2 separate regions of the Homo sapiens genome follow, and region 2 is linked to region 1. The links are contacts of gene promoters, found by promoter capture Hi-C in blood cells and fetal thymus (Javierre and others, 2016). All regions are on one chromosome and are shown on one strand. Each heading gives the region's core, a stretch centred on a gene start or on the middle of the fragment in contact. The rest is flanking DNA. Distances are from core to core; before and after follow the strand shown. Region 1 holds the start of ABCA2 (ATP binding cassette subfamily A member 2). Region 2 has its middle 5.3 kb from the start of C9orf163.

The links. The method cuts DNA at HindIII sites, captures the fragments that hold promoters and counts their contacts. A CHiCAGO score of 5 or more calls a contact.
Region 2: a fragment that was not itself captured here is called in contact with the fragment with the promoter of ABCA2 in region 1 in 1 of 17 cell types (total CD8 T cells); the score reaches 5.1 in total CD8 T cells.

What each region holds. Positions count from the first base shown.
Region 1 is chr9:137,026,966-137,029,670 of GRCh38, reverse strand. It overlaps ABCA2 (ATP binding cassette subfamily A member 2), which reads left to right and starts at 1,434. Exons shown (of 49, transcript NM_001606.5): 1 at 1,434-1,596. The coding sequence starts at 1,531. LINC02908 (long intergenic non-protein coding RNA 2908) reads right to left here and starts at 2,207. Exons shown (of 3, transcript NR_171031.1): 1 at 1,760-2,207. RefSeq lists an enhancer at 549-1,293 and a silencer at 1,177-1,356. The HindIII fragment of the contact is 3,387 bases long and covers 1-2,705 here.
Region 2 is chr9:136,487,473-136,490,173 of GRCh38, reverse strand. No RefSeq gene overlaps it. Among named protein-coding and RNA genes, the nearest start is that of C9orf163, 5.3 kb to the right of the region's middle. RefSeq lists a silencer at 1,264-1,313. The HindIII fragment of the contact is 1,579 bases long and covers 535-2,113 here.

The DNA of each region.
Region 1 (2,705 bases), core at 185-2,684:
AGGCCAAGGTTGGGGAAGAGTAGGGAACGGACGTCAGAGGCCTGGCCAGGCTGAAATCGCCCATCTCCCAGGCCCGCAGGCTGGAGGGTGTCTGGGGTGACAGGGTCTGACCTGTGCCTTGTAGCTCCCTCTGGTGGCCAGTGCTGGGGAGGCACTGGGGATGCGGCTGCAGCCAGGGAGCCCCTGTAGTGGACGGTGGAGAGTGGGGCGAGGAGGAGAGAGGCCAACCCACGGGTGGTGCTGACCAGGGCCCCAACAGGCTAAGCCCCCGGGGCTGGGGCACAGGGCTTGTCCCTACCCCAGGTAGGGGTGGGCAGGTTGAGGGCAGGAAGCCCCCCTCACCCATGGCTGTGGCTTGTGGGAAAGACCTGCTGGTAGCTTCCTGCCCTGACCCAGCCCTGTGGACTGAGCAGAGAAAAGCAAGTGCCTTGAGGCTGCGGGCTGGGGTGGGAAGCTGATCCCTCACTCACTAGCCCAGGGTCACCTTCCTGCTGCAAAGGAGCTGGGAGGAGTGGGGAGCTGTGGCCTCGGAGGTCTTCATTCACTTGAGGATGCGCCTTCTATGTGCGCCCTGACACTGGACACCACACAGCGCTACTCCACCCCATTCACAGGGGGGAAACTGAGTCTGGGAAGCGCCGTCAGAGCCACCCATGGGGTCAGCCTGTCCTCTGTCGCTCTCTACAGGCCACGCGGAGGAACTGCCCCACCTCCCGGGGCGCCCCAGCAGGTGCCAAGCCACAGCCGCAGAACCGCCTGATCCCGAACTCCCTGTGCAGAGACCAGACTCGCCCGAATATGGGGAGAAAAACGAGCCGCGTGCAGCAGGGGCCGCCTCGGTCCCCTGCCTGCTCCGCTCACGGCGAGCGTTCCTGGGGCCTCGAGTTTCCCCCCTTCCGCTGGCTGCTCGGAATCGCGGGACGGACCCACCTGGCCGCCCTGCCTCCCTTCCAGGTGGGCACCACCTGGACTCCAAGTGCTGGTTTACAAAGCACACAGGAGACCCTTACGGGGGTGAGCTGGCCCCTCGCCAGCGTCCGCTCGGCGCGCCCCGGGGACAGTGAAGGCTTGGGGCGCCTCTGCAGAGTCGCCAGCGCGGTGGGCGCAGCCGGATGCCTCTGGGAGAAGAGCGCAGCGCCCGAGGGTCCCCCGGCCTACGAAGGCTAAGCCGGGGTCTCGGATTCGATGTGGGCGCGTCGCGTGACGCCCGGCGAGGGGCGGCCCGGAGGCTTCCCGGCGGCGGCGCGCGCAGGGTCTCGGGCCCGGGTCGGTCCCGGGCGCGGCGCGGGCGGCGGGCGCCTCCTGGCGGGCGCGGACGGAGCGCGGCGCCTTTAAGCGGGGGCGGGCGGGGCGCGGGCAGAGTCGCTGTCGCCGCGGCCGCCGGGGCGGAGCCAGCGCGGATCGGGTCCCGGACGCCCGAGCGCCCCGCCCCCGCGCGGGCGATGCCCAGCGGCGCGGCGGGCTGCGGGGCCCGGCGGGGCGCGCAGAGGAGCGGGCCGCGGCGCTGAGGCGGCGGAGCGTGGCCCCGCCATGGGCTTCCTGCACCAGCTGCAGCTGCTGCTCTGGAAGAACGTGACGCTCAAACGCCGGAGCCCGGTGAGCCCACCCCACGCGCCCGCCCTCAGCCCGAGGCCGCGCGCACCGCGGCCAGAGGCGCGCTCCCCGCGCGCACGTGCGGACGGCCGGGCGCGCGCAGACCCCGGCGGGCGCTGGGGGCGGCGCGGGCCCGAGCCCCCTCCCCGCCGGGCCCTGCCCTCGCCTGCCGGCGCTGCGGCCTCCGGGGAGGTGGCTCGGTCGTGTCCAGTCCGGTCCCGCGTCCGCTGACATCGCGGTGCTCGGCTGAGTCACGGCACCCGCGCCCTCTGCAGCGCGCTCGCTGGGGCCGCTGTGGGCGGGGGGCAAGCGGCGCTCAGGACTCTGGCTCGAGGGAGGCCCTGGTTCCCAGGACAGAAGGCAGGCCTGGGGGGCTCCATTCAGCTGCGAGGCTCCATGGTCCTTGGGCCCAGCCTCCCTGGGGTCCCGGAGGAGACCCTGTCCCTTCCCTCCGTCCACCCCTCCCCTGCCCTTGGGCCGCGGCCTGCCATAGAGGTTGGTCCCAGGCATCTCTCCGCCTCCCCTCCTGGCACATCCGTGACCCTTGCTCATGCTCTCGCCACTGGGAATGTCCTTGTGCCAGCCTTGGCCAGCCTGAATCTCTGCACCCATTTGTCCTTTGGGGTCAGTTCTCCCCGAGCCTGATCCACTCTGTTGCCTCCTGGTCCCCCCACCTGCTCTGGGGGCTGGGTCTACTGTTTGGAGCTGTGAACCCCGGCTTTCCCAGCACTGCCTGGGCAGCCAGTGGACCTGAGGGTGCAGGACACATGGCTGTCAGGGACAGAAGTCCTTCGTGGAGCGAGGGGCTTGGGGATATGGGTGTCCTGCCATACCCCCAGCTGGCCAGCTTGGCTCCAGCCTGGGAAGGGAAGGGACACCTCCCAGGCCACAGGCCTGGACCAGCTTAGGTTTCTGAAGGCCCTTGGGATTGTCCAGGCCAGGGCTCAGAGCAGGTGGGGGCCTAAGGCAGACATCCTCTTGCCCAGCCAGGGCCCGGGCGGGACCCCTTGGGCTGCACCAGTCCGTGCCTGTTTATCTTTCAACATGCACTGCAGGAAACCCAGGCTGCAGTCAGCTGGGGTGGCCATCATCACCATGGCTGGCAGAATTCC
Region 2 (2,701 bases), core at 75-2,574, 540 kb after region 1:
AAAAAAAAAAAAAAAAAAAGTGCTGGCGTTAGTGGAGGTCTCTCAGAGGGGGCGTTGCAGGGCCTCCCACGTTACTCAGGCTTTGCAGACGAAGACGCAGGGTCAGTGAGTGAGCGAGCTTTGGGAAAGGCTGTTCTTCAATCTGCATCTTGAAGGTGGCTGGGTGGCGCCTCAGTCGCCTGCCCCGACGTGACTCCCGATCTGGCTGCTTTGTGTCTTTGCTTTCCACCTGGCGGCTGCTGTCCTGGCTGTTGCTGTACCTCAGTGTCCTCGTGGGTCAAGTGGGGACCTGGGTGCTGGCCCTGGGCCTGCGATGGTGAGCTGCTGGTGCACGCTGGGCATGGGGTGAGGGCTCAGAAAGGGAACAGCTCTTGTTATCGTTAGGAGGTTTTCAATCGCATTCTTTGTTCTCCACCTGCATGCCGTGTTGGCACAGTTAAGCCTGGCGGCCCCTTCAGCAGGTGTCCTAACCGTCTACATTTTAAGATGGACAAGTCTAGGCTCATGGAGATTGCAGGACTGAGCTGCGAAGCTTTATTCATGCCCAACACGACAGGTGCCAGGTGCCCAGGGCCTCAGAGGTGGGTTTCCGTTGTTCTTCACACAACCTTGAACTTGTGGCCCATCCCTGGACCTTACAGCACAGGACACACTCTCAGTGTTTGTTAGGAATCTATAATTTTCTGCGGAGTCACGCGTGATATTTGCTGTGGCTTTTGGTATATCTTCCACTCTATCGCACGGGATTTTCTGGTGAAAATGTGCCCTGGGTCCACACAAACGTGCACATTCTACCACAGCCTTTGTCGTTCTGTTTGGCATTTTTCCATTTAATAAAATGAACCTTAGAAAAGTTATAACTACGGCCAGGCGTGGTGGCTCACACCTGTCATCCCAGCACTTCGGGAGGCCGAGGCGAGAGGATCACCTGTGGTCAGGAGTTCCACACCAGCCTGGTCAACTGGTGAAACCCCCCTCTCCACTAAAAATACAAAAATTAGCTGGGCACCATGGTGGGCACCTAGAATCTCAGCTACTTGGGGGGGCTGAGGCAGGAGAATTGCTTGAATTCGGAAGGAGGAGGTTGCAGTGAGCTGAGATTGCACCACTGCACTCCAGCCTGGGGGATACAGTGAGACTCGGTCTCAAAAAAAAAAAAGAAAAGTGTATAACTTTACTTTTTTTTCTTTTTGTGGAGATGGAATCTTGCTATGTTGCCCAGGCTGGTCTCAAACCCCTAGGTTCAAGTGATCCTCCCACTTTGGCCTCCCAAAATGCTGAGACGACAGATGGGAGCAACCTCACCTGGCAAGCGTGCACCTGTTACTTTGGCCGACTCAGAGGCGGCTCTCTGCCTCCCCCTGGTGGCACTGCTCTGCCAGCGCCCCACAGGTCCTCCCGAGTGACCACAGGGCAGAAATGGCCCTCACCCCACGCCCAGGGCCATCCCCCGCGACACTGCTATTATCCTGTTTTACACATGAGGAAGCTGGGGCTCAAAGAGGTTAGGCGACTTAGCCAAGTTCGCCCATTCACTGAGCCAGGGCTATGTGATTCCCGGTCCGTGTCAAACCACGAGGAGTCACCTGCCCTCAGAGGAGCAGGAAGGCCTGTAGAGTTGATGCCATCCAGCCTGGTGACTTTTCAGACAGGGAGACGGCTGCTCAGAGGGGAGAAGGGGGTTGTTGGGCCACTTTGCCAGGAGTCAATACCATGGCCAGCCTGGCATCGGATACTTTGCCAGGAGTTAATGCCACGACTGGCCTGGCATCGAATACTGGAGCTCTTCCCAGCTCCACCCGGGCCCTTTTCTCTTCCCTATCTACAGTCCCCAGGCCACCAAGTCCATGTCCACCACTTAAATCATCACTCAATGCTCAGGACTGTCTCCTGCCTGCTGTGTGTGAACCCCGTGCTGTGCTGGGGTTGTGCCCTCGGGGACTCTCCCGGGTTCTTGGGGACTCTCCTGGGTTCAGCGCCTCTTTCTCCTAGGCCACCCAAGGCTGCCTCCTGGGCCCTGGCTCTCCCTAGCCCCTAGCTCGAACCCTAACCTGGAGAGCCTTTGGGGCCCAAACTGGTTGCATCGCTCCTGGCTGAAAAGCCTCTGGAAGCTTCCTATACTTCCAGACACCACCTGCGGGTCTCTTAGCAAGCCTACAGAGTCCACACTAGCCTACGCCCACTGGCCGCTCACCCCGCAGAAGCCTCATGTGGACTGTTCACTTCAGCCAGAAATGCTCCTTCTCCTCCTGCCTGTCCCCAGCAGACACTGCATGGTGCCCTCTGTATGGGCACCTCTGTGGCCAGCCAGCATCCATGTTCCCCGGAGGCAGAGTCTGGGCTTGTCTGTCTCACGGCCACAGCCCAGCTCCTAGCAGTGCCTGGGGTACAGCAGGGACTCAGCAGACATCTGTGCATGGTTTGGGGATAGAGGACTCGTGAGCTTACCAAGACCCTGCCTCAGCTCAAGGACAGCCAGCAGTTCCTCCTGTGGCCCTGGGGGCCTGCGGTCCCAGGTTACTGTGACATCGACATCAGCCTTGAGCTTTCTGCTTCATTCCTAGTGCTTTTTAGCACCTTACATGGTAAGTACTTGGCTCAATGATTCCAGAAAAATGTTCTCTGAGACCTGCTATGTGCCCAACATGCTTGAAGATGCTGGAGATGAGGAGCATGACGCTCCTGCAGTAACGAGGCTGCT